2 separate regions of the Homo sapiens genome follow, and region 2 is linked to region 1. Evidence: promoter capture Hi-C in human tissues and cell types (Jung and others, 2019). All regions are on one chromosome and are shown on one strand. The core of a region is centred on a gene start or on the middle of the fragment in contact, and the rest is flanking DNA. Distances in the headings are between cores, read along the strand shown.

Region 1 (7,354 bases), core at 1,597-4,096:
ATACAATTTTGCCAAAAGAGATAAATATTCAATAAAATTACTTTAAGTCTTTCCTAGGACTCTAGGAGAGTCAGGAATGCCACGTTGATTCTCCAGTATTGGATGGTAGAAAGTGTGACCTTGGAGCTTGGGTGGACAAGAGGAGCTGAATGTGCTAATGAAGGCATTGTTCAGTGTCACAGGCACATAATCACTTGTAAGATTTTAGAACTAAAAGCAACAATGACCATATCCAGTGCAACCTTGACTACGTAAAATGCAGACTGGGAGAGGCAGAACTGCTAGGAGGTCAGAACAACTCTGAATAAAAACTGGCCAGCATTCAGGCCAGGCGCTGTGGCACATGCCTGTAATCCCAGCACTTTGGGAGGTGGATCACTTGAGGTTAGCAGCTTGAGACCAGTCTGGGCAACCTGGTGAAACCCCTCGTCTCTACTAAAAAGATAAAAATTAGCTGGGCATGGCATCGCGCAGCTGTAATCCCAGCTACTCAGGAGGCTGAGGCACGAGAATCTCTTGAACCCAGGAGGCGAAGGTTGCAGTGAGCTGAGACTGTGCCGCTACACTCCAGCCTGCACGACAGAGCCAGACTCCATCTCAATAAATACAATAAATAAATAAAATTAGCCTGCATTCAAATCACTATTCTGCAAATTACTAGTAGTCATCTCTGGGTAAGTGTTTAATCAAGTTTTTACATCTCTAATGTGAACAGTATGCCTATCTCACAGGGTTATTGTAATGGTTAAATAAGATACTACATGAAATGCTTTGCTTGAATCTTCACATCTAGTGACACCAAAAGATAGTTTTTCTATTATGAAAGGAATGAGGGAAGATGACAATGTAGCGTATCATATAGTAAGTTTGCATTCGAAAAACAGAAGAGGGAGTTCAAATCCATTGATCCCGGCCTGGCGTGGTGGCTCAGGCCTGTAACCTCAGCATTTTGGGAGGCTGAGGTGGGTGGATCACTTGAGGTTAGGAGTTCAAGACAAACCTGGCCAACATGGAGAAACCCCGTATCTGCTGAACATAGAAAAATCAGCCAGGCATGATGGCGGGCGCCTGTAATCCCAGCTACTGGGAAGCTGAAGCGGGAGAATCGCTTGAACTCAGGTGGCGGAGGTTGCGGTGGGCCGGGATCGCACCACAGCACTCCAGCCTGGGCAACAAGAGTGAAGACCTGTCTCAAAAAAAAAAAAAAAATAGTACCTACACCTCATAAATTGTTAAAAATACTAAATACAGGCTGGGCGGGTTGCTCACGCCTGTAATCCTAACAATTTGATCCGCTGAGACGGGAGAATCACCTGAGCTCAGGAGTTCCAGACCAGCCTGAGCAACATGGTGAAACCCCTAATTTATCAATCTAAAAAAATAAGAAGGAAAGAAAAAAAGCTAAATACACACCATGGCACTTGACCCATAGCAACTGTTGAAAAACCACAATGGCACGGTTACTAAATAAGCGAGGCATAGCCTTCTCCGGCTTAGGGGTAAAAATGCCCAGTTCCGGTTTTGAGGCAAATGAGGAGATACTAGGGATGAGCTGTCAGAGTCGACTCTTCAGCCATCAACGCCTCGCGGTGCTTCCTGCCTGCCCTTCCTCAGATGCTCCCCTTGCCCTATCAATACGTCCACCCCAGGTAGGTCGGACACCCTACGAACATTCCGCGTTCCCCGGGAGCAAATGATGCTAGGAAAACAGGGTGCGGGCTCTTATTTGGCCGGAGTGGAGTGACCAGGTCAGCGCCGCAGCTGCTAACCACCACCAACCACAGTTTTGAAAGTTCCTGGGCTTTTTCCGGCCTGAGGGCCGACGCTGTTTGCAAAATCACAAGCACTCCTTAGAGCGGGGTTAGGAATCTAGAGTTTCCAAATCCCTGGAACCTTTAGCATCTCGCCAAGCCTCCCTCATCAAAGGAGGGAAGTGAAATCAGAGCCCCACTCCGGCTGTTTTAGAAGTTTTCCCGAATCCGTGATCCCTTTACAAAGCCCGGGCCCTGGCCTGCGGGGCGGGGCGCGCGAACGGCGAGCTATTCCACCAGAGATCCCTCCACGACCTCCAGCGGCATCCGCGACCCTGCAGCTTGCTCTCCAGCCACGGCGAGCACGGGCCGGGGGAGAGGCGAGCGGGAAGGGCGAACGGCGACCCCCGCGCTGCCCCGCGGCCGCTTCCCCCTACGGTGCTGCCCCAGGCAGGAGGCGGACAAGGCTCATTTGGACCCCCCGAGGCCGGTGCAGGCGGGCTTGGGCCCTCCAAAGGCTCAGCTTTTGGGTTTCTAAGTAAAATATTGGAATAATAAAAATAAAGGAAGTGACGACGGCGCGAAGGACGGCCCGGGCCTGCGAGGAGAGGCTGCCTCATCCTCCACCCGTGAGGGGGCGCCGTGAGGGGTCTGCGCGGAGGCGGGGGGAGGGGAGGCCGGGGGGAGGGGAGCCCTGGGGGAGGGGACAGCAGGGAAGGCGGGGGCCTCAGGCACCGAGGAGGAGAGGGCAGGGGCGCGGGGGCCTCACCGGGGGTCCTCGAAGCGCACGAAGGCGAAGGGCACGAGGCCGTGCCGGTTCTTGAGCTCGATCTCGCGGATGCGGCCGTACTTGTAGAACAGGTCCTCCAAGTCCTTCTCGCGCACGTCGGTCGGAAGGTTCCCCACGTAGATGCGCCCGTCGCCCTCGCCGCCGCGCTCGTCCGCCCAGCCCGACATCCGCACCGCCCGACGCCGCGGGCCCGCCGCAGCCCACGTCGCCGCCGCCGCCTCAGCACGGGTCCCCCCGCAGCGTCCCCGCGGGCTCCGAGGCGCTCAGCCGCACTGCATTGTGGGAACGCGGAGCGGAAGCGAAGGGGTCGGCGGAGGCAAAAGGAGTCCTCTTAAAGAGAACGCGGCTGCGACCATTGCGCGTGCGCGCAGGCCGGCGCCCCCTGGAGGTGCGAAGGGCCTTCGGGCGCTGACAGGGAGAGCCTGGGGCCGGGCCGTGTGGATGCCATCCCCGAGCGCGGTTCGCGCTCGGCTGAGGCGCTGGACAAGTGGCTTGGGCTCCCGCGCCTCAGTTTCTCTCTGTGGCGCCGCCTACCTCACAGACTTGTGAGCACTCACTGACGTGGGTAGCGCCCAGGGCCTGCGGGGCGCAGGAGAGCTGGAGTCAGGCGGAGACCGCAGGCTGACCCCGCAGCGGCCGGGCTGTCGCGGCCCCCACCTCAGGTCAGTAGGCCCCCGGGCCACCCTGTCCCCATTTTACAGTTGCTCAGAACTGACGGTGTCAGCATGAGATGGACTCCATAGCTTGGCCTTGAGTTTGTCGGAGTCGAGGGAGTAAGACTCTTAATGAGTATCACAGCGATCACTATAGAGTGCATCCGACTTGTGCTTTTCATCCTCTCCCGGGCAGAGTCTGAGGCCACAGAGGGGTCAGGAATGGAACCCAGAGCCATGCTCCCATCCTAAGTACTGAGTCCTTATGGAGCTCAGGTAGACACCCACCTTGGCACTTACTTTTCCACATTCACATCCCAGAACGCGGAGCATTGAACCCAGGGACCTTACAGTGAGGCCTTGCACCAGAAGACTTTTTGTTTGTTTTTGATACAGGGTCTTATTCTGTTGCTCAGGCTGGAGTGCAATGGCGCGAACACGGCTCACTGCAGTCTCGATCTCGCTGGACTCAGGTGATCCTCCCACCTCGGGGCGCCGTGAGGGGTCTGCGCTGCGTCCAGCTAGTTTATTTTCTATTTTTTTTGTAGAGAGGCTGGTCTCGAACTCCTGGGCTCAACCGATCCTCCAGCCTTGGCCTCCCAAAGTGTTGGATTACCGGCTTGAGCCCGGCGCCCGGCTGGAATACTCCTAACCTAAAGATTGTTCAGGCTGGGTGCGGTGGCTCACGCCTGTAATCCCAACACTTTGAGAGGCCAAGGCGGGAGGATCACTTGAGGTCAGTAGTTCGAGACTAGCCTGGGCAACATGGGGAAACCCCGTTTCTACTAAAAATACAAAAATTAGCTGGGCGTGGTGGCGTGTTCCTATAATCCCAGTTACGCGGGAGGCTGAGGCAGGAGAATTGCTTGAGCCCGGGAGGCGAAGGTTGCAGTGAGCCGAGATCATGCCACTGCACTTCAGCCTGGGTGACAGAGTGAGACTGTCTCAAAAATAAATAAAGATTTTTCATATTAAAAATGAAACCTGGCTGGGCGTGGTGGCTCATGCCTGTAATCCCAGCACTTTAGGAGGCTGAGGTGGGTGGATCACTTGAGGCCAGGAGTTCAAGACCAGCCTGGCCAACATGGCAAGACCCGCCCCCCTACTAAAAATACAAAAAAAAAAAAAAATTAGCCAAGCTTGGTGGCACGCCTGTAGTCCCAGCTGCTTGGGAGGATGAGGCACGAGAATCGCTTGAATCTGGGAGGCAGAGGTTGCAGTGAGCCGAGATTGTGCCACTGCACTCCTCCAGCCTGGGTGACAGAGGGAGACTCTGTCTCAAAAACAAGACAAAACAAAAACAAACAAAAAAAGGGACTAAAACCACACATTTAATCAGAAGGTAGTTGATTTCTCATTATACCATCTGAGCATTTTAAAATCAAAACAAACCAAAGACTAGACACCCACATATACTACTGAGTGTATATCTTTTTTGGAATACAAGTTGATAGTATACATCAGGCTTTCATAATATACATATACCCTTCGATCTTGTAATTCTGCTTGTAGGATTTTTTGTTTGTTTGTTTTGAGACGGAGTCTTACACTGTCACCCAGGCTGCAGTGCAGTGGCGTGATCTCGGCTCACTGCAAGCTCCGCCTCCCAGGTTCATGCCATTCTCCCGCCTCAGCCTCCTGAGTAGCTGGGACTACAGGTGCCTGCCACCACGCCCGGCTGATTTTTTTATATTTTTAGTAGAGACAGGGTTTCACCGTGTTAGCCAGGATGATCTCAATCTCCTGACCTCGTGATCCGCCTGCCTCAGCCTCCCAAAGTGCTGGGAATACAGGCGTGAGCCACCGCGCCCAGCTGCTTGTAGGATTTTTATCAGACGGAAATAAGCAAGAGATTCTCATAATAAATTACATGTGTATATTTATCATTGCATTCTGTGCAATTAAAAAAATTAAACTTGATAATAAGGGAGTGGCTCAACACATTAACTTTGAATGTTACACAATTATTAAGTCATGTTTTTAATATGACAGAGATATTAAAGTCACAGTAATTTACAGTTAAAGTGAATTGAAAGTGGTGTTTAATGTATACACATATATAGTGTATTTGCTGCTTGTAACAAAAAAAAAATAGAAAAAGCTTTCCAAATGTTGTGGTTGTGGAGATATCTCTTGATGGCAGTGATTTCTATGTTTTTATTTATGCTTTTCTGTATTTCTCAAATTGTAATTAGCATGCACTACTTTTATAATTGGAATAAAACATAATAAATGATTCCTAAAATAAAACCATTATAACTATCTGTTGTATTCTGGATTATGTAAAGCATCTAGCTGTTCTCTAGACAAGCAGGAAAGAGCCCTGGCCAAATATGATCTCGAGTCTAAGTGTGCAGCCTTATAGGAGCTTACATATCCTATAGGCATCCGAAAGTCCAGATGCCTTCTCATTTTGGGTGGTGTGCTTAGGTGTATTAATACCATTCTCTGAGTCCTACCACTCCTATGTGATTGTTGCCTGGAAAGACAAAAAAGGAAAAAAAAGTGCTGTTGGAGACAATTGGGCAGTCTCCTAGGGAGAGAGAAATAGAGTCAGCTAAGTGACTCAATAGGACTGTAGGTGGAAAACTGCTTGCAAATAATAATAATTCAGCTTTAATTGTGCAATGTCCTGCAGCATACAATCTCCAAAGGAGTTCAGTTACCCAGCAGAAAATGTAGGGATGTGGTTAGTACAGGCTTCTTGGATTAGATAGAGCACAGCTAAATCCTTAGGAGGCATTTATGATCATCCATGAAACCCCCTTTATTCCTGTACTGACCTTTGCAGTTAGAACACAAATGAGACCACAATTATGACTTCATGTTCAAAGGGTTCATAGGTTCCATTCTCTGCTAAGGCCAGAGACTCTAGGCAGGGACACCTTTTAAACTTTTTGTTCATCTAGATATTCAACATTATTTATGATTTAGGTCCTGTATGAGGCCCAGGGCATGCAATAATACAGCTCTGTCCTTGAGTTGTGTATATAGGTTGCTATTCGGTCATGTAGAGTACAGTTGTGATAAGGATAAGCTGCTTGAGACTACATCGGAGGGTCACCTACCACAGTCTTAGAGATTCTAAGGAAGGCTTCTGGGAGGAGATGTTTAGAGTCTTGAAGAACCAGTAGGAGTTAACCAGGGGGAAGAGGGAAGGGCATTTCAGACAAAAATGAGGGCATGACTGCTGAGTGCAGTGGCAGTAATCCCAGCACTTTGGGAGGCTGAGGCAGGAGGATGGCTTGAGTCCAGGAGTTTGAGACCAGGCTAGGCAATGTAGTGAGACCCCTATCTCTACAAAAAACTTAAAAATTGCCAGGCCCAGTGGCTCATGCCTGTAATCCCAGCACTTTGGGGAGGTCAAGGTGGGTGGATCACTTGAAGTCAGGAGTTCGAGACCAGCCTGGTCAACATGGCAAAACCTCATCTTTACTAAAAACACAAAAATTAGTCGGAGGTGGTGGCGCACACCTGTAATCCCAGCTACTTTGGAGGCTGAGGCAGGAGAATTGCTTGAACCCGGGAGGCAGAGGTTGCAGTGAGCCGAGATTGCGCCACTGAACTCCAGCCTGGTCAACACCGAGACTCTGTCTCAAAAAAAAAAAAAAAAAAAAATTAAAAAATTATCTAGGCATGGTAACGTGCACCTGTGGTCTCAGCTACTTGATCTCGAACTCTTGAGCTCAAGTGATCCGCCCATCTCGGCCTCCCAAAGTGCTGGGATTACAGGCATTAGCCACGGCACCTGACAGTCCCAGCTACTTAAGAGGCTGAGGTGGGAGGACTGCTTGAGCCTGGGAGGTTGAAGCTGTAGTTAGCCATGATTGCACCACTGCACTCCAGCCTGGGCAACAGAGTGAGACTCTGTCTCAAAACATAAAAAAGGACACCATGAGAAATCACCCAAATAGGAGAGAGAGTAGCAGACCAGGGAAAATCCCTACTGGTGTGACTGGGGCAAGGAGTTCAAGCAGGGAAGAAGAGAGAAGGAGCTGAGGCACCACCAGCCTGGGCAACATGTTAAAACCCCGTCTCTACAAAAAATACAAAAATTAGCTGGGCATGGTGGCACACACCCATAGTCCCAGCTACTTGGGAGGCTGAGGGGGGAGAATCACTTAAGCCCAGGAGGCAGAGGTTGCAGTGAGCCAATATTG
Region 2 (6,623 bases), core at 1,611-4,110, 170 kb before region 1:
CTCACGTGATCTGCCTGCCTCGGCCTCCCAAAGTGCTGGAATTACAGGTGTGAGCCACTTCACCCAGCCCATTTATTCTTGTCTATTTTTTTTTTTGAGACGAAGTTTTGCTTTTGTTGCCCAGGCTGGAGCGCAATGGCGAGATCAACCTCCGCCTCCCAGGTTCAAGCGATTCTCCTGCCTCAGCCTCCCGAGGAGCTGGGATTATTTTTAGTAGACACGGGGTTTCACCATGTTGGTCAGGCTGGTCTTGAACTCCTGGCCTCAGGTGATCCACCCGCCTTGGTTTCCCAAAGTGCTGGGATTACAGCCGTGAGCCACCGCGCCCGGTCCCATTCATTCTTTTTTGAGACAGCTTTTGGCTCTGTCGCCCAGGCTGGAATGCAGTGGCGCGATCTCAGCTCACTTCAACCTCTGCTTCCAGGCCTCAAGTGATCCTCCTCCCACTTCAGCTGGATACTTTCTGTATTTTTCGTACAGACAGGATCTCACCATGTTGCCCAGGCTGGTCTCGAACTCCTGGGCCCAAGTGATCCTCCCATCTTGGCCTCCCAAAGTGCTGGGACTATAGGCATGAGCTGCCGCCCGGACCAACTGTTTATCCTTTTTTTTTTTTTTTTTGAGGGGGAGTCTCGCTCTGTTGCCCAAGCTGGAGTACATAGACTCAATCTCAGCCCATGCAACCTCCGCCTCTGGGGTTCAAGCAGTTCTCCTGTCTCAGCCTCCCGAGTAACTAACTGGGATTACAGGTGCGTGCCACCAATCCTGGCTAATTTTTGTATTTTTAGTAGAGACAGGGTTTCACCATGTTGGCCAGGCTGGTCTCAAGCTCCTGACCTCAAGTGATCCTCCTGCCTCAGCCTCCCAAAGTGCTGAGCCACGGCGCCCGGCCTATCCATTTATTTTTAGATGGTCATTGCTGGTTTCCACCTTTTGTCTATGGGAATAATGCTGCTATTGGTGTGCAAATATCAGCTTAAGTTTCTGTTTTCCTTTTTTTTTTTTTTGAGACTGAGTTTCGCTCTTGTTGCGCAGTCTGGACTGCAAAGGCGCAATCTCAGCTCACCACAACCTCTGCCTCCTGGGTTCAGGTGATTCTCCTGCCTCAGCCTCCCAAGTAGCTGGGATGACAGGTATGCGCCACCATGCCTGGCTAATTTTATATATATATATGTATAAATATATATATAGATAATTTTTTTTTTTTTTTTTTTTTTAGTAGAGACGGGGTTTCTCCATGTTGGTCAGGCTGGTCTTGAACTCCTGACCTCAAGTGATCTGCCTGCCTCGGCCTCCCAAAGTGCTGGGATTACAGGTGTGAGCCACCGCGCCTGGCCCCTGTTTTCTATTCTTTGGTGTACATACCTAGAAGTAAAATTGCTGGATCATATGTTAATTCAAAAGGGTTTGGACACCTTAATTCAAAAAGAGGCTCAAATAATAAGGATTTATTTCCACAGAATGTTCACAGTTTCTAAAATTTGAAGCAACTTTCACCCTCACTGCCTGTTTTCCTTCAGGATGTAGAAAGCTATTAGAAACCTACATCTGGTCTAGGTGTGGTGGCTCGAGCGTGTAATCCCAACGCTTTGGGAGGCCAAGGCAGGTGGATCACCTGAGGTCAGGAGTTCAAGATCAGCCTGGTAACATGGCGACATCCCTGTAAATACAAAATACAAAAATACAAAATTACAAAAATACAAAATACAAAAATTAACGGGGCGTGGTGGCGCTTGCCTGTAATCCCAGCTACTAGGGGGGCTGAGGCAGGAGGATCGCTTGAACCTGGGAGGTAGAGGTTGCCATGAGCTGAGATCATGCCACTGTAATCCAGCCTGGGTGACAAAGCGAGACTCCGTCTCAAAAAAAAAAAAAAAAAAAAAAAAAAAGAAAGTAACATTTCCCCCAACATTTTATCATAAAAAATTGTAAACACGAAAAGTTCAAAGAATTCCTCAGTGAACATTCATGTACTCATCATCCATATACAAAAATGACATTTTTTTTTTTTGAGACGGAGTCTCGCTCTGTCGCCCAGGCTGGAGTGCAGTGGCGCAATCTCGGCTCACTGCGAGCTCCGCCTTCCGGGTTCACGCCATTCTCCTGCCTCAGCCTCCCGAGTAGCTGGGACTACAGGCGCCCGCCACCACGGCCGGCTAATTTTTTCTATTTTTAGTAGAGATGGGGTTTCACCGTGTTAGCCAGGATGGTCAAAAACGACATTTTAAAAGGCCTGTTTGATGCTGATGTGTTATGTGATTATTTCTAACTTGTTTTGTGTTTTTTTTTTTGTTTTTTTTTTTTTGAGACATGTTCTCAGTCGCTTAGGTTGGAGCGCAGGGGTGCAATCACGGCTCAGTGCAGCCTAAATCTCCTGGGCTCAAGCGATCTTCCCACCTCAGCCTCCCAGGTAGCTGGGACTACAGGCACACACCACCATGCCCAGCTAATTTTTCTGTATTTTTTGTAGATACAGGGTTTCACCATGTTGCCCATGCTGGTCTCCAGCTCCTGGGCTCAAGTGATCCGCCCGCCTCGGCCTCCCCAAGGGGAGGGATTACAGGCATGAGCCACTGCAGCAGATTTCTTATTTAATTCACAGCCTGGATAAAAAGAAAAGACTAGCAATGTGGTGAATTTAGATTCTTTTACTTTGATCATCCAGTCAAGGATTTAGTCATTAATTCTGGATGGGGTGGAGTTGTGAGAAAAACACTAGGCCAGGCACGGTGGCTCACGCCTGTAATCCCAGCACTTTGGGAGGCCGAGGCGGGTGGATCACAAGGTCAGGAGTTCAAGACCAGCCTGGCCAAGATGGTGAAACCTCGTCTCTACTAAAAATACAAAAATTAGCTGGGCATGGTGGCGGGCGCCTATAATCCCAGCTACTTGGGAGGCTGACATAGGAGAATCACTTGAACCCGGTAGGCGGAGGTTGCAGTGAGCCTAGATTGCGCCACTGCACTCCAGCCTGGGCGATAGAGCGAGACTCCGTCTCAAAATAAATAAATACATACATACATACATACATACATACATAAAATAAAATAAATAAATAATGGGGCTTGGTGTGGTGGCTCACGCCTGTAATCAAAAAAAAAAAAAAAAAAAAAAAAAGAGAGAGAGAAAAAGACTAAAGCCCTAATCCTAATCCCATGAGGGTATCAAAGGAACTTCCTAGCCCTTGAGAATTCTAGAATGGGTGGCCCATTACACTCTCTCAGTAGCTATCAAGTGAAATTGTGTGTTTCACCAGCTGACTTGGATGACAAAAAAAAAAAGAAATAGAAACAAAGCATACAAAAATTAAAAAAGAAAGAAAGAAAGAAAGAAAAAACAAAACAAAACAAAAAAGACTTGGATGACTTCACCGTCCAGGGATGATTTTCCAGCACTATGAGAAAAATTGAAAACTCAGCTAACTTTTCCTCAGAGCATGAGATTTTTGGGGGCCTAGAAGCACAATAGAATTCCCAACCAATCTCTATTAGTGATGATCATTCCACTTGGAGAACTGAAAAAATAACCTAGGTTTGAACTTTTTCATAGTAAAATTGGTGAATGGGGAAGGAGAATGTCACTGTTCTCACATTTTTAAAAGTTATGATCAAATACCCAGAAAATGTGTGCAGAAAATGTGCTGGATTATAATTTTTAAATTTTGGGGGGGATTATAATTTTTTTGACAACGAAAATTTCAGTCTAGCTTCTGGTGCTTTCTTTCAGCAGATGTGGTCAGGTTAACTAATGCAGAAAGGGCTGTCAGTGGCTGGAGTGCAGTCACAGGATCATGGCTCACTGCAGCCTTGAAAAAAAAAGGGGGTGGCCGGGCGCAGTGGCTCACACCTGTAATCCCAGATACTGGGGAGGCTGAGGCAGGAGAATCACTTGAACCCGGGAGGCGGAGGTTGCGGTGAGCCAAGATGGCGCCATTGCACTCCAGCCTGGTCAACAAGAGTGAAACTCCATCTCAAAAAAAAAAAAAAAAAAAAAAAAAAGGAGGGGGCTGTCATATGAGTTTCCCCGCCTAGTAGATCCTACAGCTACTGACTTTCGCTGTTGCTGGAGCTACTACTCCCTGTGTACTAAGTTAAAAAGAATCGGCCAGGCGCAGTAGCTCACGCCCGTAATCACAACACTTTGGAAAGCCTAGAGCCCAGGAGTTCGAGACCAGCCTGGGCAACATGGTGAAACCCCGTCTCTACAAAAAAATACAAAAATTAGCTGGGCTTGGTGGCCCACCTGTAGTCCCAGCTACTCAGGAGGCTGAGGTGGGAGGATGGTTTGAGTCCAAGAGGTTGAGGCTGTAGTGCGCAGTGATCGTGCCTCTGAACTCCCGCCTGGGTGAAAGAGTGAGACCATGTCCCCAAAATAAAAAAATAAGCTTTTAAATAATTAAAGTGGCAGGGCGCAGTGGCTCATGCCTGTAATTCCAGCACTTTGGGAGGCTGAGGCGGGCGGATCGCGAGGTCAGGAGTTCGAGACCATGCTGACAAGCATGGTGAAACCCCGTCTCTACTAAAAATACAAAAATTAGCCGGGCATGGTGGCGGGCACCCGTAATCCCAGCTACTCGGGAGGCTGAGGCAGGAGAATCACTTGAACCCGGGAGGCGGAGGTTGCAGTGATCTGAGATCGTGCCACTGCACTCCAGCCTGGGCACAGAGCAATATTCCGTCTCAAAAAATAAATAAATAAATAAATAAATAAATAAATAAATAGCCGGGCGCGGTGGCTCACGCCTGTAATCCCAGTACTTTGGGAGGCTGAGGCGGGCGGATCACGAGGTCAAGAGATAGAGACCATCCTGGCTAACACGGTGAAACCCCGTCTCTACTAAAAAAAAAATACAAAAAATTAGCCGGGTGTGGTGGCGGGCGCCTGTAGTCCGGAGGCTGAGGCAGGAGAATCGCGTGAACCCGGGAGGCGGAGCTTGTAGTGGGCCGAGATCTCTCCACTACACTCCAGCCTGGGCGACAGAGCGAGACTCCGTCTCAAAAATAAATAAATAAATAAATAAATACAATAATAATAATAATAAAAGTGGCGGGGTGCAGTGGCTCACTCCTGTAATCCTAGCATTTTAGGAGACTGAGGCAGGTGGGTCACCTGAGGTCACGAGTTCAAAACCAGCCTGGCCAACATGACGAAACCCCATCTCTACTAAAAATACAAAAATTAGCCGGGCGCAGTGGCGAGCGCCTGTAATCCTAGCTACTCCGGAGGCCGAGGCAGCAGAATCACTTCAGCCGGGAAGGCAGAGGCTTCAGTGAGTGAAGATCGCGCCACTGCACTCCAGCCTGGGCAACAGAGCTAGACTCTCTCAAAAAAAAAAAAAAAAAATTAAAGTTAGTTTTACTTACAAGTCTTACTGAGGATTACAGACCGAGGGCTATAGTGTGGGAGCAGTTCCATCAGACTGGTCCAACACAGAATTTCAGCCACTCATATACAAGTGGTGAGTGTACGGCGCCTGCAAAATCACATTAAACTTGCTTCAAAGTTACATTAAAGCACAATCATATCAAAGTTTGGGTGCAAGAGTATATCTGGTTATGGATTACAGAGGTATCATCACTAACCCCATCAGACATTATCTTGTGCAGGAAAAGGCAATGACCAGAGTCATTTATCTTTTAATGAATATAGTGACTTGGAAGAGACATGGAGGGCTGTGTGCTCTATTCTGTTTTGTCTTCAAAGCATCTTTCTGGAGAGCTGTATGTTGTCACAGAGTCAGGGGCTTCATGAAACGATGCTGCCAAGTCGAAATAAGCAGGCCCGGCATGGTGGCTCACACCTGTAATCCCAGCACTTTGGGAGGCCAAAGCAAGAGCTTTCCTTGAGTTCAGGAGTTTGAGACCAGCCTGAGCAACATAGTGAGACCGTGTCTCGACAAAAATAAAAAATAACAAAATTTAGCTGGGCGTGGTGGTGGATGCCTGTGATCTCAGCTACTCGAGAGGATGAGGTTGGAGGATCCCTTGGGCCTGGGAAGTAGAAACTGCAGTGAGCTGTGATGTCACAACTGCACTCCAGCCTGGGTGACAGAACGAGACCCTGTCTCAAAAAAAAGAAAAAAAAAAAGCAGAAATGGGCAAACTACTAAATGGTCATTTTGCCAATATTACCTCCAAAGATACAATGATAGAACCAAAAACCTAAAAACTCTTTCTCAAGCTTCCACATTACTTCTCTGCACTTCAGTTCATCTTTATTTATTATTATTATTTTTTGAAGAGATGGGATCTCACTTTGTCACCCAGGCTGAAGTGCAGTCGCACAATTATGGCTCACTGCAGCCTCGATCTCCTGGGCTCAAAGTGATCCTCCCACCTGAGCCTCTTGAGTAGCTGGGACTACAGGCACACACCACCACACCCCGCTAATTTTGTTTATTTTTTGTAGTGAGTGGGTCTCACTATGTTGCCCAAGCTGGTCTTGAACTTTTGGGCTCAAGTGATCCTCCTGCCTTGGCCTCCCAAAGTGTTGGTATTACAGGTGGGAACCACTGCACTCAGCCCAATTCATCTTAAAATGGGGGAAGGGAGTCCTTAGGTGGTCTTCAAGGTCCCTGCTGGCCGCCCACCTTTATGTCCAAAGACACTTATACATTTATTGAT

The links. The method cuts DNA at HindIII sites, captures the fragments that hold promoters and counts their contacts. A contact is called where the count stands out against the background at its distance.
Region 2: a fragment that was not itself captured here is called in contact with the fragment with the promoter of SRSF9 in region 1 in 1 of the 25 tissues and cell types used here (dorsolateral prefrontal cortex).

What each region holds. Positions count from the first base shown.
Region 1 is chr12:120,466,902-120,474,255 of GRCh38, forward strand. SRSF9 (serine and arginine rich splicing factor 9) reads right to left here and starts at 2,847. Exons shown (of 4, transcript NM_003769.3): 1 at 2,521-2,847. The coding sequence starts at 2,708. It also overlaps a transcript of DYNLL1 not described here. RefSeq lists silencers at 2,086-2,255, 2,506-2,805. The HindIII fragment of the contact is 11,710 bases long and covers 1-4,814 here.
Region 2 is chr12:120,294,225-120,300,847 of GRCh38, forward strand. It overlaps a transcript of SIRT4 not described here. Among named protein-coding and RNA genes, the nearest start is that of RNU4-1, 4.3 kb to the left of the region's middle. The HindIII fragment of the contact is 8,404 bases long and covers 1-6,623 here.